Regions from separate parts of the Homo sapiens genome. Here region 2 is linked to region 1. The links are contacts of gene promoters, found by promoter capture Hi-C in human tissues and cell types (Jung and others, 2019). All regions are on one chromosome and are shown on one strand. The core of a region is centred on a gene start or on the middle of the fragment in contact, and the rest is flanking DNA. Distances in the headings are between cores, read along the strand shown. Region 1 holds the start of LCA5L (lebercilin LCA5 like). Region 2 overlaps GET1-SH3BGR (GET1-SH3BGR readthrough).

Region 1 (3,510 bases), core at 705-3,204:
AGGAGTTTGAGACCAGCCTGGCCAACATGGTGAAACCCCATCTCTACTAAAAATACAAAAATTAGCTGGGCATGGTGGCGTACACCTGTAATCCCAGCTACTCAGGCCGAGGCAGGAGAATTGCTTGAGCCCAGAGATGGAGGTTGCAGTGAGCCGAGATCTTGCCACTGCACTCCAGCCTGGCCGACAGAGTAAGGCTCTGTCTTAAAAAAAAAAAAAACAACAAAAAAAGAGAGATTGGCTAGGGGCCTTAGCTCCTTGAGGGCAGGGACCTGTCACATTGATCGCGGTATCAGCACCCAGGTACTTACTATTCAAAATGATCAGCATACGGATGATCATTTGTCTGCATCTCAGTTTGCCTCTTTTGGTGCTTCTCTAAAAAATAAAAAAGGAAGAGCTTAAACTCCTACATGATTCCTGTCTTTGCGCTGGGAAGAAGGCTCTGGGTTCTTTTGTTCTTCAGGACAGTCCCTTGTAAAGCTCTTGCCATAGTTCTGTTCCAGGGGCACTGTCATATTTATACCTAACAAAGCTAAGGGGTGTCTTTACATTTTTAGCTTGTTAGCAGGATGCTTATATGGCCTTGCTGACCCGGTTTAAAAGTTGCAATTTGCAAAATACATACTGAAAATACTGCACTTTTACCTATGGAAGTTGTAATTTATATAAGGAAATTGTAATTTATATAATCCTTTAAAAAACTTACTCATACGAAATAACAGAGAACGGGGAAATACCATTAAGACTGTCATGCTCAAGTGGGGGAGGGGCAGACTCAGGGAAACCAATTAGGAAGCAAGTAAAATAATCCACGCACCAGATGATGGGGGCCTGGACCAAGGTGGTGACAGTGGCGGTTGAGAGAAATGGTAGAATTGTGAATCTATTCTGGGTGCATTTTGAAGGCAGTGCTGACAGACTGAAGGTGAGGAAGAGAAAAACAGGACTCAAACAGGATGCAAGACTCGGGCAACTGGAGGATGGAATTTCCAGCAACTATGATGGATTAAGATTGTGGGAGGACAGGCTTGGCTTGGGGAATTATTGAGCGCTATCTTGGACGAGCTGTGTTTGAGATGCCGTAGACATCCAAGTAGGGATGTGGCAGGCAGCTAAATGCAGGGATCTGGTGTTCAGGGGAGGGGCGAGGGCTGGGAATGCACACTTGGGGCTCACTGGAATTCAGATAGGCTCTGAGTACAGGCGACTGGATGAGTTCATCTAGGGATTGAGTGTAGACAGAAAAAAGGCTCAAGCTCACATTCAGCCGTGAAAACTGGTCTCTGAAAAAAGTTAACCGTTGGCTTAAGTGTGGCAACGAAACGTTAACACGCTGAGGGGAGGGTGTGGATAAAGAGCCCCGAGGCTGGGTGAGTGGGGGACAAACACAGACAGAGAAGACATTTCAAAAGATTTAGATTCCTACGAGATAGGGAGATGCCAGCGCTAAGGTTAGAAAGAAAAACTAATCCAAAGCAAAACAGCAAGTAAGCAGAGGCAAAATCGGAGGTCAGATAGAAGATTCAGATAGAAAAACCCCAAAGTTCCCTCGGTGGGGCGGCGGTGAGATCGGCCTCCGCCCCCTCGCCAGACCCAGGCGCGGCCCCGGGAGCGCTAGGTCACCTCGGCCCAGGCCGTCCCCCTGCCCAGCGGGCCTGAGAGTACGTGTGTCGCCGGGGCGCCCGGTCACTGCCGAGCCGGGGTAGCTGTTCCTTGGCAAACTGTGCCGCGAGGAGGAAACGGCGGGGCGCCAGCGAGGCAGGCAGGGGCGAGGACTGAGTGACCGGCGATACTGGAAGCCCAGAAAGAGCGTAGCAGGAGGGTCCGGAAGGGCCCAGAGCTGGGGCTGTAACAGGGTAACCGGCTGAGGGGGACGACGGCAGCAGCGGGGCCGTTACCTGCTCCGCGCTGTTCCCACGACTGCGCCAACGCCGCAGCGCCGGCGCGTCCCCATGGAAACCCGCGCGCGGGGCCTCCTGGGAAGCGCCGGCCTGCGGGGGCTGGGCGCGCGCATGCGCACTCGGGCAGCAGGAGCCGCGGCGGGGAGGGGCGTCTTGGGCCTGGAGGTCAGTGTGGCCTCGCGTTTGTCTTCGGTGACGGGAAGTGAGTTTCTTGTGTAGACGTCTGTAAACGATCCTCCTGCCGTCCCTGTTCGGCGCCCGGGACCCTGCCTTCCCGCGTGGCCGCACCGAGACGAGGGAGCCTGTCACGCGCTCTGGCGCTCTCCTGACCTCTTAAGGCTCTGTCAGTCTTAGGTAACTTGAGTCAGTAGGTGGGTGTAGACGCCTGGTCAATTCCTGGGAAGCACAGTTCCCCTATTAACCCCTTGTCATAAAGACGATTTTTTTTTTTTTTTTGTAAAACAAAATCTGATGACAAAACAATGCATGTTTGGCATAGAGAATTTAGAAATGTACAGGCAAGTCCAAAGCAAAAGTCAAAATCACCTAGATGATGGAGTTATAGATGTTTTTTAATGACAGCATAGGAATTTGGCATAATTTAGGAAGACTTACATTGTTTCCTTTTATTTATTTACTTTTTTTCCTGCATCAAAGCCATGTTGAATATCCTTGCAGATGAATCTTTGAGGTCACCCCTGACTGTTTCCTTAGGATAAATTCCTACAAGCGAGGTTGCAGGGCCAAAGCATATGCTCACTTTGAGGCTTTCTAAAGGTAGAGGGAAACTGCCTTCCAGTAAGTGTCCCGATACTTGGCCCGCATTGGAAATTCTCTTTTTTCTTAAAATTTTTTTGCCCATTTTATTGTCAAAAATTGGCATCTTTAATTGTATTCACTTCCTTTTTAGTAGGAAGAATAGACTTTTTCCCATATCTTGAGTGCCATTTGTCCTTATTGTGTGATTTGCATTTTCCTGTCTTTTGTCCATTTTAAAACTTGACATTCATCTTTGTAAAAATGGGTTTTGTAAGGACTTTTGATGCTTGAAAACTTGGCTTGTGATATACGTTGCAAATATTTCCTCAATTTGTCAGTTACCTTTAATTTTGTTTACAGTGTATTTTGGTATTTGTGTAGAGTCAAGCTTATTACATTTCTCTATAGTTTCTGCATTTGGTTTTTATATAAAAGGAGAAACGGGTGTTTTTTTTCAAATTGACTTTAATCCTACTTTGGTAGAAGTGGGTTAGGACAAGCTTTCTCTCCATATCACCATTTCTTCCTCTAGAAATGCATGACCCACCCTGAGTTTTGGTGGGCCATGCATTTCTAGAACTCCTTAGGTAGGGAATTATCCGTATAAGATGGGTGCCGGTTGTTTTTGCTGGTGGTGGTGGGCGGGGCAACATCTCCAGGTAGGCAAACATTAGACAAATGTCACTCTAGACTTGACATTATGGAAAGATGGGCTGATGCTTGGTGGGTGGTGGTGGCCCCATGACAGTAACGAGAGCGGAGTTTTGCCATTGCGGGAGCATCCAACCCTGGAGCTCATGACTGGAGGAATTGAAAGGTAGAGTTTCCTGAGAATGGTTTCCTCCTC
Region 2 (3,741 bases), core at 816-3,315, 42 kb before region 1:
GGGCAACATTGGCCCCTAATTTCAATAATAATGATGACCTCTAAATGTTCAAGTGCAAGGAAGAGTTGCGTGTCTTTCGTGCTAGCTTTTATTTTATTTAATTAATTAATTAGTTTATTTGAGATGGAGTCTTGCTCTGTCACCCAGGCTGGAGTGCAGTGGCATGATCTCGGCTCACAGCAACCCCTGCCTCCTGGGTTCAAGCGATTCTCCTGCCTCAGCCTCCCGAGTAGCTGGGATTACAGGCGTGCACGACCACACCTGGCTAATACTTGTATTTTTAGTAAGAGACGGGGTTTCACCATGTTGGCCAGGCTGATCTCGAACTCCTGGCCTCAAGTGATCTGCCTGCCTCGGCCTCCCAAAGTGTTGGGATTACAGTCTTGAGCCACCTGTAAAGAGTCTGAGTTCTTTACTTACAATCTTTTAGTTCACTGAGCTGGAGACCCCAGGGAGGTCCCAGCATTGTATGGAAAACGGACCCCCTAACTTGGGCTGCCTGGGTTTTGTCCTCAGGAGGAGTCTGTGTTGCTCAGACATATTCGGCAAATGCCCTTTAGGCAGAAGCTTACTTTAGTGCTTTGCTTACTTATCTCCTTGGGTGCCTAATTTCTTTTCGTGTTTACCAGCTGAGCAGCTGATTTAGAAACGTTTTCTATAGTTGGTACAGCATTTTTAGCTTTTGTTACAGCAAGAGTGTTGGAGTACCTTCTCTCTCAGAGCTCAGGAAATGGATTTGTTTTTAAAAATCTTTTTTCCATGATCGTAAAGTTATGTTCATCATAGCAAACATGCGAAAGAAAGCCAGAGTAGAAAACACTAAAAGTAAATTAAAAATTGGCCCCAATCTCATAATACTCAGAGATAAAAAGTTAGCATGTTAATCTGTTACCCTCTAACTTTTTTATTCATACAGTTAAGATGACTAGACAACAACAGGCTTAGATTGTATTTTTATTAAATTAGTTCTCTACACTTCTAAATATAGCTCTGATTTAATATCACGATGTGTGCTTTCATTGTGGGTGGGCATAAGAAAAGATCCCTTGGAAAATCCTCTGTCTGCTATGAAGCTGGAGTAGACACTGTCATGTTACTCAGCATACCATTTCCAGGAGTCCTTTTAATACATTTCTCCGGAATTGAGGCCACTATGTCATCTCACTTAATTTGCGTATTTCCCCTTATGAGCCTGTGAGAGCTCTCCCTCCCTGCCTCCCTTACTCCTTCCGTCCTCTTCTTTTCTATGTTATTCCACCTTGCTTTTCATAAACGATCAAAGCATATGCCAATTGTAGTATTTATCTCATCTTTGGTTTTATTATTTTTTAATTAATTAGTTTGACACGGAGTCTCGCTCTGTTGCCCAGGCTGGAGTGCAGTGGTGCGATCTCGGCTCACTGCAAGCTCCGCCTCCCGGGTTCACGCCATTCTCCCGCCTCAGCCTCTCCAGTAGCTGGGACTAAAGGCGCCGCCACCACGCCCGGCTAATTTTTTGTTATTTTTAGTAGAGACGGGGTTCACCGTGTTAGCCAGGATGGTCTCGATCTGACTTCATGATCCGCCCGCCTCGGCCTCCCAAAGTGCTGGGGTGAGCCACCGCTCCCGGTCTACTATTTTTATTTTTATTTTTTTTTTGAGATGGAGTCTCACTCTGTCGCCCAGGCTAGAGTGCAGTGGCGGGATCTTGGCTCACTGCAACCTCTGCCTCCCAGGTTCAAGCAATTCTCCTGCCTCAGCCTCCTGTGTAGCTGGGACTACAGATGCTGGCCACCACGCATGGCTAATTTTTGTATTTTTAGTAGAGACGGGGTTTCACCAAATTGGTCAGGCTGGTCTCGAACTCCCGACCTCAGGTGATCGCCCGCCTCAGCCTCCCAAAGTGTTGGGATTACAGGCGTGAGCCACTGCGCCCGGCTCTATTTTTATTTTTATATTTTTTGAGACAGGGTCTTGCTCCTTCGCCCAGGCTGGAGTGCAGTGGCACGATCCTGGCTCACTGCAACCTCCTCCCAGGTTCAAGCGATTCTCCTGCCTCAGCCTTCCGGGTAGCTGCCATTACAGTTAATATTACACACCAACACATAAACATCATTGGAAAGGAAATAGTATGGTCTAGATTATAAACAAGTTGCCCTTATAACTAAATGAAGTAAGCTAAATAAAGTGAGGCTGGGAGTATAGCCTCCTTTTTACAGTCCTAATTTAAAATATCCTAAGTTTAGTAAATATATTAGTTAGGACTGAGCAGCTAGCTCGAATAAACACCAGCAGGGCCATGGTACTGTTTTATGGTTTTTAGAACAAGGTTAACAGAAAAATGGTCAACATACAGGTATGCAACAAATCTCAATAAATGATACTGGATCTCAGGTGTACACAAGGAAAGCATCACCCACAAAGGCAGGACATTGGATACCCAGGTTAGCTGAATAAGAGAAACTCAAAAATGATTTTCATGGCTGGGCACGGTGGCTCACGCCTGTCATTCCCAGCACTTTGGGAGGCTGAGGTGGGCAGATCACCTGAGGTCAGGAGTTCAAGACCAGCCTGGCTAACATGGCAAAACCATTTTTAGTCTCTAATAAAAATAGAAAAATTAGCTGGGTGTGGTGGTGCATGCCTGTAATCCCAGCTACTCTGTAGGCTGAGACACGAGAATCGCTTGAACCCCGGCAGGGCGGAGGTTGCAGTGAGCCAAGATTGTTATCACTGCACTCCAGCCTGGGTGACACACTGAGACACTGTCAAAAAAAAAAAAAAAAAAAAAGATTTTCATGAAACTAAGCTTGGTAATCACTATATATATACACACATACATACATATATGTATTTTTTTTTTTTTTTGAGATGGAGTCTCGCTCTGTCACCCAGGCTAGGGTGCAGTGGTGTTATTTTGGTTCACTGCAGCCTCTGCCTCCTGGGGTTCCAGCGATTCTCCTGCCTCAGCCTCCTGGGTAGCTGCCATTACAGGCATGTGCCACCACACCCAGCTGATTTTTTGTATTTTTAGTAGAGACAGGGTTTCACCATGTTGGCCAGGCTGGTCTCAAACTCCTAACCTCAGGTGATCCACCTACCTCGGTCTCCCAAAGTGTTGGGATTACTGGCGTGAGCCATGGCACCCAGCCTATTTTTTTTTTTTAGTAAAAAGAGTCTTTTGATCATATTGTTCCCTTTCAAAGCTGCTGCCACATTTTGTTTTTATTTTTTGAGACACGGTCTCACTCCGATTGCCCAAGCTAGAGTGCAGTGGCACGATCATGCTCACTGAAGCCTCGACCTGGGCACAAGTGATTCTTTGACCTCAGCCTCCCAAGTAGCTGGGACTACAGGCACACACCACCACACCTGGCTAATTCTTATAATTTTTGTAGAGACGGGGTTGTACCATGTTGGCCAGGCTGGTCTTAAACTCCTGGACTCAAGTGATCCTCCCACCTTGGCCTCCTAAAATGCTGGGATTACAGGCAAGAACCACTGCATCTGGCCTGCTTCCATGTTTTTAAGTTACAATTCAACTCTATTGCTGATAAATTTTGTTGTGTAGGAGATGCATGTCTTGGGTTGACTAACTTAAGAGTTACTAGCTATGGAGTCCCACAGAATACTAAAACCATATAGTAAACCAGTCTTCCAGAAGATAATGGATGTTTCAGTTGTAAAGATGTAAATTTGTATTTGAAGTGTTATCATTGGCTAATATAAAATAGATTTTTTACTAGATTAGCAATCAAACAA

Evidence for each region. Contacts are between HindIII fragments. The study calls those that stand out against the background at their distance.
Region 2: a contact is called between a fragment that was not itself captured here and the fragment with the promoter of LCA5L in region 1, in 2 of the 25 tissues and cell types used here (adrenal gland and aorta).

What each region holds. Positions count from the first base shown.
Region 1 is chr21:39,443,824-39,447,333 of GRCh38, forward strand. LCA5L (lebercilin LCA5 like) reads right to left here and starts at 1,955. Exons shown (of 11, transcript NM_152505.4): 1 at 1,902-1,955; 2 at 312-378. All of the region lies in intron 8 of GET1-SH3BGR (GET1-SH3BGR readthrough), which reads left to right. It overlaps MIR6508 (microRNA 6508), which reads left to right and starts at 3,187; the gene lies at 3,187-3,246. It also overlaps a transcript of SH3BGR not described here. RefSeq lists a silencer at 1,866-2,125. The HindIII fragment of the contact is 9,266 bases long and covers 1-3,510 here.
Region 2 is chr21:39,402,002-39,405,742 of GRCh38, forward strand. The region is part of intron 4 of GET1-SH3BGR (GET1-SH3BGR readthrough); the gene reads left to right. LCA5L (lebercilin LCA5 like) reads right to left here. Exons shown (of 11, transcript NM_152505.4): 11 at 3,727-3,741. It also overlaps a transcript of GET1 not described here. Among named protein-coding and RNA genes, the nearest start is that of GET1-SH3BGR, 24 kb to the left of the region's middle. The HindIII fragment of the contact is 5,337 bases long and covers 1-3,741 here.